Linked DNA regions of Homo sapiens: regions 2, 3 and 4 are each linked to region 1. The links are contacts of gene promoters, found by promoter capture Hi-C in blood cells and fetal thymus (Javierre and others, 2016). All regions are on one chromosome and are shown on one strand. Each heading gives the region's core, a stretch centred on a gene start or on the middle of the fragment in contact. The rest is flanking DNA. Distances are from core to core; before and after follow the strand shown.

The links. Contacts are between HindIII fragments. The CHiCAGO score rates a contact against its expected background, and 5 or more counts as called.
Region 2: a fragment that was not itself captured here is called in contact with the fragment with the promoter of C6orf163 in region 1 in 1 of 17 cell types (naive B cells); the score reaches 6.1 in naive B cells.
Region 3: a fragment that was not itself captured here is called in contact with the fragment with the promoter of C6orf163 in region 1 in 1 of 17 cell types (total B cells); the score reaches 5.9 in total B cells.
Region 4: a contact is called between a fragment that was not itself captured here and the fragment with the promoter of C6orf163 in region 1, in 2 of 17 cell types (monocytes and naive B cells). The highest score is 5.2, in monocytes.

What each region holds. Positions count from the first base shown.
Region 1 is chr6:87,342,852-87,346,929 of GRCh38, forward strand. It overlaps C6orf163 (chromosome 6 open reading frame 163), which reads left to right and starts at 1,962. Exons shown (of 5, transcript NM_001010868.3): 1 at 1,962-2,396. The coding sequence starts at 2,249. The HindIII fragment of the contact is 2,547 bases long and covers 1,931-4,078 here.
Region 2 is chr6:88,889,705-88,893,782 of GRCh38, forward strand. It overlaps RNGTT (RNA guanylyltransferase and 5'-phosphatase), which reads right to left. Exons shown (of 16, transcript NM_003800.5): 7 at 2,102-2,211; 8 at 791-892. Among named protein-coding and RNA genes, the nearest start is that of RNGTT, 72 kb to the right of the region's middle. The HindIII fragment of the contact is 4,119 bases long and covers 320-4,078 here.
Region 3 is chr6:88,874,209-88,878,286 of GRCh38, forward strand. All of the region lies in intron 8 of RNGTT (RNA guanylyltransferase and 5'-phosphatase), which reads right to left. Among named protein-coding and RNA genes, the nearest start is that of RNGTT, 87 kb to the right of the region's middle. The HindIII fragment of the contact is 1,701 bases long and covers 862-2,562 here.
Region 4 is chr6:88,797,260-88,801,337 of GRCh38, forward strand. All of the region lies in intron 12 of RNGTT (RNA guanylyltransferase and 5'-phosphatase), which reads right to left. Among named protein-coding and RNA genes, the nearest start is that of RNGTT, 160 kb to the right of the region's middle. The HindIII fragment of the contact is 4,929 bases long and covers 1-4,078 here.

The DNA.
Region 1 (4,078 bases), core at 712-3,211:
AACAGATTAGATCTTGAAGCAAGTCTTGATTAGTAAACTATTGTTCAATAAATGTTAAGTGAACTCTTTGCCCAGGGGAGTAGTCTAATCTTCTGATGGAAGAGCTGTTTGCCTAGATCAGCAAGCTGTCCAATTGATAAATTGTTTTTCAAGGATTTCCTAAGGCAAACACTGAAAGTATTTATTGGTTTTACAGCCTTATCTTCCATAGGAGGCCCAACTCTTCCAATTTGCCAGACACTAAGGAAGTTCAGGACTTTCAGTTTTAAAACAGGGACAGTCCCAGGCAAATCAAGGCCAGTTAGTTATCCTTCCATCTGGGCAAGAATTTCTAGTAACAGATAGGAAAGTTATTGGCACAAGTAGCCTCAGTTCTCAATCCAGATAATTAACTGTGTGGATGCAGTAATCCTCATTCTTCATACTAATTCATCTCTTTGTTTTTAATTCCTCTCCAAGTCCCAGTTAACCCTTTTCTTGAAGTCAAATCTGGCACAATTTGATAGTTACTTAAGGTCTTCAGCCAGTTATCAGGCCGTATGTGTTAATATAAATTATAGAGTAACTTGTGGTACACTTAGCTCAGGGCCCTATGGGAGTCCTGTTGTTGAAATTAATTTCACTGATGGCACTCACTTATTATAAAATAGTCCTGCCAAGTAGATGCAGCATATGACATTGTCAGGCAATTTTATAAATTCAGTTACTTGGTACAATCAGTTGCACAGATTTTTGCGATAGGTGGAATTTCTATGGCTGTTTATCTAAAATTATAGGAACAAATTAGTTAACCATGTGATTTTTAAAACCAGGCTTAGTAATTTTGAATGCTGCCTTAATGAAAGTAATTTCTTCTTCAAGATACCATGATATTTCCCAGTTTTATTACCATGGCACCAACACATCATGTTTATTAAAAACCTAAAAGAAATTAAGCTACCTCCATTGCTGGCCTTAAAAGAAATTAATTCTTTAAAAACTAATTTAAAACAAAGTGTGGTAGGCTGACTAATGCTCTCCTTCCCTGCAAAAATGTCCAGATCCTAATCTCTGGAACCTGTAAATATGGGACTTTACGGATATGGGTAAGTTTAGGATTTTGAGATGGGGAGATTATCCTGGATTATCTAGATGGGGCTGGTATAATCACCAAGGTCTTTAAAGCACGGCAGAAGATCAGAGGAAGAGACAATGTCACTATGGAAGCACTGGGGGAAAAGGCTATATGATGCAAGGCCATGACCCCAAGGAATATGGATGGCCTTTAGAAGCTGGAAAAGGCAAGCAAACACATTCTCCTCTGAAGCCTGCAGAAGGAACCAGCCCTTCTAACAACTTGATTTTAGCCCCTAAGACTCATTTTAGACTTCTGATCTCCAGAAATGCAAGAGGATAAATTTGTGTTACATTTAAACTATGAAGTTTGTGTAGTTTGTCACAGTGGTGCTATGGTTTGAATATTTGTCCCCTGCAAAACTCATGTTGAACTTTAATCCCCAACGTGGTAGTATTGAGAAGTGGGGCCTTTAAGGGGTGAGTGAATTCATTCATGGGTTAAGGGATTGATGGATTATCATGGGAGGAGAACTGGTGGTTTTATAAGAAGAGGAAGAGAGGCCTGAGCTAGCATGTGAGCTCAGCCCCTGGCCATGTCATACCCTATACCACCTCAGGAATCTTCAGTGAGTTCCCACCACCAAGAAGATTCTTACCTGATGCAACTCCTCCACCTTGGACTTCTCAGCCTCCATAAACTGTAAGAAATAATTTCATTTTCTTTATAAGCTATCCAGTTTCAGGTATTCTATTATAAGCAACAGAAAACAGAGTAAGACAGCAGCAATAGGAAACTAATATAGAAAGTATCAGGAAAATGAATGGCTGTATCATGCTCCCTTTTGTCATTATTTGAAGTTGCTTTTATGAGCAAAGCTTGTCTTACCTAGCAACAGTTGCCAAGTAAGTTAACAACTTAATGCTAGAGTCTGGGAAGGAGCAACTACTTAAATCTTCCCAAATCTGGTGCCCATACCTTCTATGGCAGGGGCTTTTAGCACCATTCTTTAACGTTAGACACATAACCACAGCCTAATCACTTGAACCATTTAATCCTTACCAGCCTCTAGCATTATCCTAAAACCCTGAACCTCTTCCAGCTTTCTTAAACTTTCAGCTTTTCTTGAAACGACTTTTTCTGATTCTAAGATTATTTTAACTGTAAGTAGGAGAAGACATCTGAAATTTAACTATGATCAGAAATTCAGATTACAAAAACTTTGTTTGCTGTGCTGTTTGTAATAAAATAATTCCACCAGCCCCTTTTGGAAAAACCTTCAAACGGATCCATGAATACAAGCCACTTAAGACACGCTTTTACACTCACAAAGACATACTAGGTAAGTGACTTTATCGTTTTCCTTTGTTCTAATGCTTCATAGCCTTATGTGTCATTCTTTCTGTTACATAGACTTTTATCAGCTTTTTTCTCTTCAGAGTTGCTTGTCCCTACAGGGATATTTGAGGAGAATATGGGTTGGAATACAGCTTCTCCACTTACAGTTGTATGTATTGGGCAGGGTATTTAGCCTCTCAATCTGTTTCCTTATGTGGAAATAAATATACTAATACCTATCTTACAGGTTGTTATGAGACTTTAATGAAGTATTTGTATCTATTATAAATCCTGGCACATAATAGTAAATGTGAGTTCATTTTGCCCTTGGCCATACTTGAGCACCTTTCAGTATGTGTAGGAGAGGAAATATTATCTCTAAATAACACCCTAATTGGATGGGCACAGTGGCTCACACCTGTAATCCCAGCACTTTGGGTGGTCGAGGTGGGCAGATCACTTGAGGCCAAGAGTTCAAGACCAGCCTGGCCAACATGGCGAAACCCCGTCTCTACTAAAAAAATTTAAGCAGGCATGGTGGCATGCGCCTGTAATCCCAGCTACTCGGGAGGCTGAGGTAAGAAAATTGCTTGAACCCAGGAGGTGGAGGTTGCAGTGAGCTGAGATCGTGCTACTGCACTCTAGCCTGGGTGACAGAGCGAGACTCTGCCTCAAAAAAAAAAAAAAAAAAAAAAAATTTTAAAGTACCCTAATAAATGGGTAAAAGAAACTATATAACCTTTAAATAGTAGCTGGTAGCATAAAAGTAGATACATATAGATAACATGAGGACGTTTACTGTACATACGTATGTATATATAATAAGCAAATCAAATTGTACTATAGGTTTCCATCTCTCTTTTATCCCCGTAAGAGTTTTCAGTCTGACCTTGAGCCTTGTAGGTATTTTCCTAAGAACTCTCACAATACTTCTCTGATCCTCTCTTCCTTTAAAATGGTAAACTAAGGGTGATTTCATTTCACTCCTGATATTTGAAAATATAAGAAGCTGGAGAGCAGAGGTGTTTGGAAAAAAAAACTAAAATGTAGGGGGAGATCAAATTGGAATCATCTTCTAAAAACATCAATTCCAAAATTGTTTCTTAGCATTTAGTAAGTGCTTAGTATGAATGATTCATTATGATCTCTAAAGTGACTTTTCATACCCAGGACAGTGTATCTCCATTCTTAGATATACCTTAATGATTGATTCCTTATGCCTTATGGAATATCTAACCCAAACCTTAAGTGGATAAGTTAAATCTATTGTTAGAAATTAATCTTTTCTATTCAGTGACCTTTGTCATTGAACTGTTTTAAGTTAAAAAAGAAAGAAAGTTGAAATTGTCTGTTCTTTATAAGCATTTTGAAATGTCCGTAGAAGAGCTAGTGAGTATTTCATAGGACGATAGTTCTCAATCCTGGCAGTGCACTATATAGAACTTTGAAAAAAAATATTAATACAGATATCCAAACACAGACCCACTGGATTTAATACTAATCTAACACAGAGCCACTAAATTAGGACCTCTACGGTCAGGACTAAGCATGTGTATTTTTTCCTTCACGTTTAAATAACCTTTTTTATTTCAAGATAGTTTAAGACTCACAAGTTGCAAAATAGATCAGAGTTCCCCTGTACCCTTCATCCAGCTTCCATTGATATCTTACATAATCCTGGCACTT
Region 2 (4,078 bases), core at 1,129-3,628, 1.5 Mb after region 1:
AAAAGAAAAAAATAAAATGTTGCTGAGGAAGAATAAAATTTCTACTAATATCTTGACCAGCCTGGGCAACATAAGGAGACTTCATCCTTACAAAAAATTTAAAAAATAGCCAGGCAGGGTGGCACATTCCCATAATCCCAGCTACTCAGGAGGCTAAGCTACTATTCAGGAGACTGAGGTGGGAGGATTACTCGAGCCCAGGAGTTCAAGGCTGCAGTGAGCCTTGATCGTGCTAAGGCACTGCCGCCTGGGTGACAGAGCAAGATCCTGTCTCAAATTAAAAAAATCTTAAAACTTAGAAATATAAAATTTGAAATTAAGCTTTGTTGTAATAATGCAACAACCTTGCGAGTATATAAAGAGAATAAGGCAAATTATTCAAAGGAGAATACAGAATGAATCAGAGAGAGTTCATCATTTTTAGATTACAAACTGGCAATTTATCTATTAACCTCAACATGTCCAATATCATTAAAAAACAAGGCAGTGGGCAGCAGACATACCAAAAACCATATCATTAAGAGAAAAACACTTTCAAACTTAACATCTAGTTATAGATTTATGTTAAACTAGCTAAGCTCTGAAACCAAAAATTTAGCAGAATGAGAGATAACTTGTGCTATACAGCTTAGAACACTAGCAAAACCAAAAATATATAATTTTTGAAACATTTATTTTGCTATTCACATTAGAAATTCACACTCTCAAGAGTGTAAACTTTTCTAACAATAAAACAATATTCTTCAAGCATTAGGGTTATTTGTGTAATTTTTTTAGAAGTCTAACTTACCGAGTACCATCTGCTTTCCAGCTTACTTTGTATGGCTTCAGGTCTAAAAGTTTAATATTTTGCTTGTCCATGGAAACAGGCTGTGCTCCAGGGAATCCAGACCTTAAAGAAGAACACAGTATTACTATCGTGGCTGGTATCCATACAAAGCAATACATGTCTTAAACCAATCTCAAATGAATCACACATTTATCACAATGTTCTCCCTATGATGAGATTAATGTCAGCTGGAATAACATCCGCTTTCACAAAAATACTAATAAAAGATTATCATTTTCTTGACATTTTAGAATGCAAGTTAACAGAGTTCTAAATTACCACTGCTATGGTATAATCACTGAGCTAATTTTAAAATATTAGTATATATGATCTAAATAGTAAAGCAGGTATGTTTACAAGTCTTGTACTTCAGGAAGAAGTTTAAATCTTGGCTTAATTACTTTACATGATATTCTAGACCCCATATTTCCCCAACGTGAGACTGCCAACTTGACATAACTGCAAGGTTGGCAACTTTCTCCTCAAAAGATACCCAGAAGTGACAAAACAGGAGAAATATGGGTCAAGATTAAGGCTTAACACAACATTAAAACCAAGGGTGTAGGTCAAGATTAAGGTTTAACACAACATTAAAACCGATCTTATTTCTTCATTGTTTTCATATTTTAGTTAAAACTACTTCTAGATGATTTATCTAGTATTTATGTAACAGTAATAAAAGTTCTTTTCATTAGGAATTTATATTAGGAATTAACAATAATCCTTTTTCCTTACATTCAACTGTATTACAGTTCTCTGCCACAGATACCAATGATCAGCAGAAATGACCACAGGCCAAGACCTGAGAGCAACAGATAAGAGCAATGTATGCTCTCCTGAATCCACTACGAAATGTCTGAAAGATATTTTCAAGTCATGGCATTCACTGCTTATATTTAAAGCTGATTTTCCTAGACTTCTGATTACAGAAAAACTGGAAAATGAGGCAGATCCAAATTTCACCTCTTCCCTCTTATCAAATTGAGAGACTAGCTCAAACATTAATCAGTAGCAGTAGAGTCAAAGACACGAAACAAATACTAGACAGTGAAAACAAGAATTTTCTATTACTTTAGGAAAATATGTGAGTCATCTAATTTTGACTCAACTGTCTGGTTATTGCATTGATTGTCTTGAACGAAATCTGACACCTTTAAAGTATTCTATTGCAAACATACTAACTTCAAGGAGCCAAGAAGATATGTCAATGCTTGTATTAAGTGTTGTAAAATAAGAGCAAATTTTATTTAAAAATTTAAAAATATTTATTACCCTTCCCAGCCACAGAATTGATGACACTTCTGCTGTACCTCTCCTAACTTTGGTTGTGTTGTTACTTGAGTTACACCTTTAACAGTAACACCTTCCAAGAAAATAGCGCCCTTTAAAAAAAAAATAAGAAAAATAAGGGAAAGAAAAATATTTTATTAGAGTTCAAATTCATTTACAAAGAAGAGACTGAGAGATAAATTAGTTTGTTCTCACAAATCTTAGCAAGTCAATATATCTAACAGAAACGGTCTGCTGTATAAACTCCCCTAAGATTGTACACTAGTTTTCCTAAATCCAGCACATGGTTTTCTTCAATATACGTATGTACTCTATAGGCACTTCTCAAATCATAACAGTAATAATAATTTATCTACCATTTATTGAGATCCAAGCAGAATGTCTGGCATCTTGCAAACATTCTCTCTAATCCTTACAACACTGAAAAAATAGACTGTACTGTATTTATTTCAAAGATGAGTAAATAAGGCACAAAGATTTTATGTAAATCAAGTGGTAAAAGACAGAATTTGAACAGGCCTACACTATACCAACCACCAATGGAGAGAAGGGGAAAGGAGCTGTGTTACTATGAATGAAGTATGGACTTTAAGGGGATAAACACCAAAACCTCTATCTTTGTAAACCAGAGTAAGAGTGTAGGCAAAGTGGCTAAGCCACAGTCATTGGATATATTAACATACTAATAGAACAAAATATTACTCATCATGGAATTTTTAATCTAAATTTTTTAACTCAGAACTACATATTTTGAAATATCACAGCGAAGTAAAGCAGACAGAGAATATCAAACAAATAAGGAACCCTTCTGGAAATTTTTAAACCTAAAAAAAATAGTCTAGATGTATGCTACAGTTCTTTTAAGGTCCATAAAGGGACTGGCATCAGTCTTAAGAAAAATCTATAAAACAATTCTAGCTGTTAATGTAATTAGGCAATAAAAAAGTTAGTCTACAAGCTACAACGTTCAACCTTCTGGCAAAGACCTGGCAATCTGAGCCACTTGAGAAAAGAAAAAAAGAACAATTAATACTTCATCCACATACATTCTTGTCAAATCTGGAAGAATCCTGAGTCCTTCCAGCAGACACTAGTCCTACTTTTTGTCCCTAATTTTGAAGCACTTTTTGTACTTATCTGTCTTCTACTTTGCTTTCCTTAAATAACCAAAATTTAGGAATTTCATAAGCCCAAGGATCAAAGAGTACCATCCCTCTACTATTATACCATTATTTCTCTGTACTAGCCAATGGCATTTCTGTTTAAAACCATTTTTATCATTAAGTACAACAGCTAAAGGAAAAAAAGAGTATTTTTAAAAGAAAGCTCAACCAGATAGATGAGGTTTGTAACATATTTACTTATTGAGTGCTCAGATAATTTCAATATCCTTAAAAAATTGTTTCTTATGCTAATTAAAAAAGAACACTTCTTTTTAGAGAGTTCAATATTAAGCATCCTAATTCTGATGGTATTAACAGCATGAGATGTTCTTTTTAAGTTTTACACAAAGAAAGTCTCTAGCTTCATTTATCAACGTGGATTTCCTATGCAAAGTTAAGAAATTTACATTAACTTCTGAAATGGGCAAAATAAAAGCAAAGGCCAAATTAACCTAAGTTACTACTAAAAACACAAACACTATTTATATTTTTAACATATAATAAAAAGGACTAACACATAGAAAATATGATCACATTCAACCAAGCACTTTCCCACAATATTACCACAGAAATATTTTAATAACATTTCTATGGGGTTGAAAAAGCTGAATATTTTTAATTTAACAGAGCCAATAAATACTGAGCATCAGTACAGATCTAACAACTACTGAGTCTGGTTATAAAAGTTAACCCCAATCACCTAGTAAATGTCTGTCATCCATTTATTGTTCTTCTTCCTTAATCTTTCCTACCATGCATCAACTTCTTTTTTAACTTCCTCTATTTTCTTCCACAA
Region 3 (4,078 bases), core at 462-2,961, 1.5 Mb after region 1:
ATATGTAAAATACAGCATTCTTTTAAGTGATCTTCCATCAGGGTATGCCACATTTATTGCTCTAAAGATTTACCTTGATATGGAATAAAATTTAAAAGCCACTTAACGTATTCTGGGCAGCACTACCTATCACAGAGGCATGTAAACAACATTTTAATTTTTATAAAGTAATCCATCTTCATGAAAAGAAAAGATCAAAAGAATTTTCCCAAAAGTTTTATTTTACATTTGTCCCTGACTCGCTGATTACTTTCAGTTTTCTTTTGTATAAAGCATGCATTCTAGAAAAATCAACTATAATTATTTCAAACAATTTTTCACAGATTCACAAAGAGGATAAAGTTTTTTCCCCTTTTTTATCCAAGCCAGCATTTGCCACTTCCATAATCACACATAATGAATAAGAGTATGTGAGCAAATAATGAGTTAAGAAAGTATCACAGAATCGTAAAAAAAAAAAATATGAAAATCCAGTTAACACCTCATCTAACAGATAAGCTCTACTGCTGAGATGGGTCAAAGCAAATGTTCTTCCATCTGGTCAGCAGCACTACTCAATACTAAATATCAATATTCAATACTAAATATATCTTACTTATTTCCTATATAAAATTTAAAAATCCATCTATGAACACCCAATATCACACTCTTAAAATCAAAACAAGCAGTCATATTTCATATACAGTATCAAGTAATGCTCTTTATTAGCTCTTTAGTATCTCTTACTTAGTTGTCTGGTACTATACATAGTTTTGTTATATCTCTTACTACATCTTAAATTGTACTTCATTTTCCTGCTGAGAGTAGGAATTGTACTTTTACTTTCCTCTAGTGTCTTGTATTGTCTTTGAGACCTTCTAAAGCTTACAGTAGCTTAACAGTTATCTATTAAAGCAGTAAATATTGTCTGCAAATATATTTATTATCCCATTAAGTGAAAGGAGCAATGCAATTTGAATTACCATCACAAAGCAATTTGAAAAAAAAATAATAGAGTTTTTCTATTATTTATTTATAAGAGAACAGCCTATATCATATCCCATTATATGGAGGATCAGAAAGTAAGGAAAGAAAACAGCAGGTAAGAAGATGAAGGTATAATGTCTCGAGAAACCAAACATCCAACTCTTAATATTGATTATCCCAAGGGGTGGGATAAAAGTTCTCACAGGGAGAACTTTTTAATTTCTTTTTAATGTTTTATGAGGAAGACAGAAGACATTATCAGAAAAAATATATTTTAAGACAGAAAAATTCATCTATTAGCATAAAACAGTAAAAATAACTATCAAAATATTGAAAAAATAATGAGGACATGACCTGGCAAAAAGGATTCTGGGCTCTGGGGCCAGATCACTTGCATTCAAATCTCAGTCCTGCTACTTACAATAACTGTGTCTGTGACCTTGAAAAAGCTACTTATTCACAATGCTATCTTACAGCGTTGTGAGTATTAAATGAGATAAATGTTCTATGTAAAGTACTCAGAACAATGCCTAATACACATTAAGTGTTCAACAAGTATTACTTGTTATAACTGTTGCTATAGCCAAAATACAGAATGAACTTGTGCAACCACACTAGTATTCAAAAAAAACTGCTAATCAAAGCAATTTTAAAATTCATTTTCCTTTAATTTTTACATCAATAAAATCTTTTAAGAAAAAAATTCATTTTCCAATTGTCAACTTGGCTACATTACTTATATTAAGTGAAACTACCCCAAATTGCCAAGGATGTACACTCAAGCACTGCTGTTCGGAGTGTATCACTACAACCTCTAGCAAGGTATATCAAGGACTTCAAAGGTTTCCATACTATATCTAAGTAATACTATTTTTGTCAAAATTTATGCAAAGATGGGTATAAGAAGATCAGTACAGTTATTTATAGCAACAAAAAAACTGGAGTCTAAATGCCCCTATAATCGAGGGTGAACTATTTTTTCTTGGCAGCAATTAAGTCATTTTAAAAATACATGTTATAACAATGAAATATACTCATGTTAAGATAAAAAGCAGCATACAAAAATAATCATGCCTGAGTATTGTGGCTCAGGCCTGTAATCCCAACACTTTGGGAGGCCAAGGCAGGCAGATCACTTTAGCCCAGGAGTTTGAGACCAGCCTGGACAACACGGGGAAACCCTATCTCAACAACAAAAAAAAGACAAAAATTAGTTGGGTGTGGCGGCACGCGCCTATAGTCCCAGCTACTCTGGAGGCTGAGGTGGGAGGTCGAGGCTGCAGTGAGGCATGAGTGTGCCACTCCACTCCAGCCTAGGCAAAACAGTGAGACCCTGTCTCAAAAAACAATCATCATCATCATCATATAGTTTAGTTCTAATTACCTGCTAAGCCTATCATAGCTAGCACAATCTCTGGCATATGGTAAATGTTCAATAAATATTTGTTAACTACATGAATGAACAAAGAGACAAATTCAATCTCTTTATCCTGTATTCCTTGTTTCTCATTTGTTTGGGTCCAGTAGCCCAGCTCTATATAGGGGAAAAAATGTTTGAAAATATTAACGAAAAATTCATTTGTTTTAATCTTTCAAAGCTTCACATGTTTGCTGCCCCCAGAACCTGGCCAACTGAAAATTCTGAGTTAGGGTTGCACCTATGTTTGCAATCAAAGTTTTATCTGTATCTGCTCAGCTCTAAGAGTTCTCTAGCAGATTTTGGTAATAGGTAATAAATTTGGTTGGTTTTTATTTTTAAATACCATTTCAAAGACAGTATCTCTATTAACTAGTAGTAACTCTCATACTTAGGATTTGATTAAAGAAACTGCTATTTAAGGGACCTTTTTATCCTTTAGTAAATCCTAAAGATGTGACTACTAACCAATGGGTATTTCAAAGATTTGGTTTTAAAATGTTAGATTGTTTTGCCTTTGCTTAATTTTCTTCTTGTGCAATAACTATACCACACCCTAAAAGAATTCTGAGTGAACTCTGGGAAATCAATGTTGGTTCTCATGTAATAATGGTTTTCAAAACAGTCTTCAGTTATAACAACAATAACTAATATGCATTGAGTGCTGTATAATAAGCATTTTATGTGGGTCTCCACCAACTAACAGAGAAATTCTCAGATATGTTCTTAACTCAATAGCTGGCTAAATACTACTTTGAATTGGGTCACTGATTTTTAAATTTTGTTCCATGAGGCACTACAGATAGCGGCTCCCAAATCAGGTTAAAAATCACAAGTAATCGGGGTGCTTTTCAAAAATGCATTTTCTCAGAACCAATCCAGGCTTAATGAATTTGAATCTCTGAATTTTTTTTTAATAAAAGTTTCCTATGATGGTAGCGCAACTGGAAATGCTGCCCTAAAAAGTTCCATGGTAACCTCAGACGCCACACCAGAATGCAACCCCATATGCTTTCCTCAATTTGCAGCAACCAAAGCATTACTGCTTTTATCTGTTTCATATAGGGGGACTTAAAGAAAGATTTAGGCTTGGGGAGGGAGTCAAAGAGTCCTTCTTTTTAAACCAATTTACCACAAGATACCATCAAACGTAGCTTCAGATCAATAAACAGTGTTTCTGAGTTGACCTCTAAATATTCTCTGGTAGTCTCACTTCCCCGTGATAAAAAAGAAACACAGGAGCTTTATTGTGTCCCATCCAGTTGCAAGGAAACTGGCCTGGATCCCTAACTATAGTTCTGATGAAACTACTATTAAAAACAGGGCTGGGGTCTTTAAATGACGAGATCTGGCTTACATTCTCTCTAAGAGTTTTGGTTATCACCAGAGGTATGACACTAAACATTAACTGAGTCCTAAAATTAGTATAGTTAGTATAATTTCCATTATTATGAGGAAAAACTACCTTAAACCTAATTTCATTTGTTTATTTATTTATTTATTTATTTATTTATTTATTTTTGAGACAGGATCTTTCTCCGTAGCCCAGGCTGAAGTGTAGTGGTACAATCTCGGCTCACTGCAACCTCCGCCTCCCGGGTCCAAACGTTTCTCGTGTCTCAGCCTCCCAGGTAGCTAGGATTACAGATGCAAGCCACCACACCTGGCTAATTTTTCTATTTTTTAGTAGACACA
Region 4 (4,078 bases), core at 730-3,229, 1.5 Mb after region 1:
CCATAAAATTGTAGAACAGATTAGAGACCACTGAAAATAACATGTTCAGTTTACAGCTGAAACAAAAGCTCCATAAGTATAAGGACCAGTTTGTACAGCATTAGGTTTTCAAGATCACTCAAATCAAAAAAGCAGAAAAGATAAAGTCAAAAAAGTAGGGAAATCTATCAGAGAAGAAAGGTAAAAGGGATTTCCTGGATGAAATAGTGAAAAGAAACTCTAAGAAGAAAAGGCTATGCAGCAGGACTAAAGAATGGAAGGCTTCAGAAAGAATGCCTTCAAATGAAAAATGGACCTTATATATTTGACTGCATTGATAAAAAGTAAACAGTTCTTTTGGAGAGTTTAAAGAAAGAAATATTAATAATTATAATAACCAAAAATATTCCTAATGCTAGATGACAAGACTTTTCTAAAAAAAGAAAATACAATTGTATACTATTTGACCCAGATAGGAACAATATTTATGTCACCATAAAAATATAAAAATTGAATATTAATTTGACCAAATATGTGATGTAATTACAATAGAATGACAGAAGGAGAAAGGGGTGTGGAGGGGGTTAGTGGAATTAGAGGGCTCAATCCTATTCTTCCACAGTACAAAGTAAGCAGATTATGTATAAAATACAAAACCAAAAAAGAACAGCATAGACTGTGTAGAACTGTAGAAGCAAAAGCCAAAAAAAAAAAAAAAAAAAAGAGGAAAATAATTGCCTCCTAGGAGTAGTACTCAGAGTGCAGAAAAAGGTAAGAGACTGTTTGGTAAGAGACTGTTCTATTTTTCAGCACAAATCACTCATTTAATTGGTTTTTTTAAATCATGGATAGGCATTACCATGGATTATGTGCAACTTACATAATTTTTTCAACAATAAAAAATATTACCTTCATTATTCTGAATATAAAAAATGAGAAAAATTGGCCGGGTACAGTGGCTCATACCTGTAATCCCAGCACTTTGCGAGGCTGAGGCAGGCGGATTGCTTGAGCTCAGGAGCTTTAGACCAGCCTCGGCAACAAGGCAAAACCCCGTATCTACGAAAAATACAAAAATTAGCAAGGCGTGGTGGTGCGCGCCTATAGTCCCAGCTACTTGGGGACCTGAAGTGCGAGGATTGCTTGAACCCAGGAGGTCGAGGCTGCAGTAAGCCATGTTTGTGCCACTGCACACCAGCCTGGGCAACAAAGTGAGACCCTGTCTCAAAAAAAAAAAAAGAGAGAAAAATGAACTGTAAGAAATAAGGTGGCAGAAATCCTCAAGAAGCAATTATACCTAGATCCAAAAGTATGCTTAAAAAATTATATATATCATGATCAAGTAGCATTTATCCCAGGAATGCAAGGATGGGTCAACATGAGAAAAATCAGTGTAATTTACTACATAAATGGTGTAAAAATGAAAATGACATGATAACCTTAGTAGATACCGAAGAGGCATTACTGCCTTAAAATTAATGCTTTAAAAGGTGTTAAAGCCCAAAACCTGTTTATGATTTTAAAAAGAATTATTGGAAGAACAGAATCAGAAATTTCTTAACACAATAAAGGATATCTAACAGAAATCTACCACAAACATACTTAATGGAGAAAATTTAGTTACATTCCCTTTGAGGTTGAGAAGAAGGTATAAATGTCTTCTCCCTTATCTAACTAGAACTAATACTTAATTCAATACTAGAGGTCCTGGTCAATGTGTAAAATTAGACAATGATGAGAACTAACAGAATTCAACAGGATTGTTGAATCAATAAAATAAATCAATAATGTGGCAGTGTACTAGAAGTAGCAATAAAAAAAGACACAATTTACCACAAAAGCAGAAAATGACAAATATTTAGAAGTTACCATAACAATAATAAAAAACTTAAACTCAGTTACAGAACAGAAAAAGACCTGAAAAAAAAAAGCCATAGCATTCATTGAGAAAGTGATTTAACATTGCAAACACATCAATTTTCTCCACGTTAATCTAAATTCAAAGATGTTCCAATTAAACTCCTAACAAAAATTTCTGGGTAGCATGACAAATTGATTCTGAAACTTTCACGTTAAACCAATTGTCAACAAATATTTAAGGTAATGCTGGCGAACAGGGAGACTTGACTTAATACCAGATATCAATTACAAAGTCATTGTAATAAAAAGTGTGGTTACGGCCCGGCGCGGTGGCTCACACCTGTAATCCCAGCACTTTGGGAGGCCAAGGTAGGCGGATCACCTGAGATCAGGAGTTCAATACCAGCCTGGCTAACATGGTGAAACTCCGTTTCTACTAAAAATACAAAAAATTAGCCGGGCATGGTGGTGCGCACCTGCAATCCCAGCTACTCAGGAGGCTGAGGCAGGAGAATCCCTTGAGCCCAGAAGGCAGAGGTTGCAGTGAGCCAACATTGCGCCATTGCACTTCAGCTTGGGCAACAAGAGCAAAACTCCATCTCAAAAAAAAAAAAAAAAAAAAAAAGTATGGTTACTAGAAAGGGAACGGAATGACAAATCAACTGCCTATACTAGACATCCAAGAAAGAGACTCACTTATTTGTCAGGCCATTTTTCCTACATATGCCATATATGTACAGATCTGAACCATGAGTTTCACACACTGAAATTTTCTGAATTTATTGTTATATTTAGACTTTGCTTCTTTCAGTCTAGGGAGACTGGAATATATTAGAACTAAAAGATTCAACTTTAATTTTCCTAAAATAGTATTTTCTTCCATTTCCGTCCCTAACCTCTAGTGCTCCTCCATGTCCTCCTCCCTCTCCTCCTCCCTTAACCACAGAAGATATTTCTGTTCTTTGTTTGGCAAGGGGGGCTAGAAGACAGACAGATGCCAATCACATATCACATTGTCTCTAAATTTGCATTTTAGCAGAGATTTATTACACACGTAAAGATATAATGCTTTACATGCATAGGTTGAATATGCCTTCTCTGAAATGCTTAGGACCAGAAGTGGTTTGGATTCTGATTTTTTTCAGATTGGGGAATATCTGCATTATATATACTTAACAGTTGAGCATCCCTAATACAAAAATCCAAAATGCTCCAACGAGCATTTCCTTTGAGCATCATGCTGGTGCTCAAAACATTATAAATTTTATAGCATATCAGTCTTTGAATTAGAGATACTCAACCTGTACAGTATTTAATACACTGTGTTCAAATTATTAGTTCCCTTTCTTTGACCCCAGGCACCCAGTCTGATGTCTCCATATATAAATTCTCAACTAGCTTATACTCTAATTACTAAAAGAAGAGTTGGTGAAGAAAAAAAGCAGCATATGATGAGGTGGTTGCACATGAAATAAACTCTTTCCTATAGAGTAAGTAGCTCTCATACTTGAACATGCATTAGAATCACTTGGAGAACTTGTCAAAACACAAACCGCTAAACTCCATCCCCAGAGTTTCTACTCAATAGGTGTGGGGCTGAGCTGCATCTGTGAAACTTCCTGGGTGGTGCTAATCCTCCTCTACAGGCCACATTTTGAAAAACACCGTCCTACAGAACATGGGTTATCAAGTAGGGCCAATTATGTTCTCTGAGGAAACTGGGCAATGTCAGACTATATTTTTGGTTGTCACAAATGGGAATAGGGAGCATGCTCCTGGCATCTATACTCCTGGCATCTAGTGAGTAGAGACCACAGATGCTGCTAAACATCCTACCATGCACAAGACAGCTCCCACAGCAAAGAATTATCTGGCCCAACACATCAGTGGTTGAGAATGAGAAAACCTGCTATAGAGTAAAATACAACTTACTTCAAATATATGATTCGACCATTAAGTTGGTAAAAGTTCTTCAGTGCATTTCAAAAATTTAACATGGAAAAAATATTCAAAAGTTTTATTCTTTCTCAAGTAGTGACAAAGTATGAATTTTACTCTACAGTAAACTACAGCAAAATGAAGTTTTAGAGAGATTAATACATAAAAGTATACCAAGTTACAAAAGGAAATAAACATTTATGTAATGCTATTGGTAGAAAATTATTTTTTAATAACTAATTATATTAAAAGACTGGTTTCTTTGAAATGTAACGACCAAAAATGCTTATTTCTTAAGCTG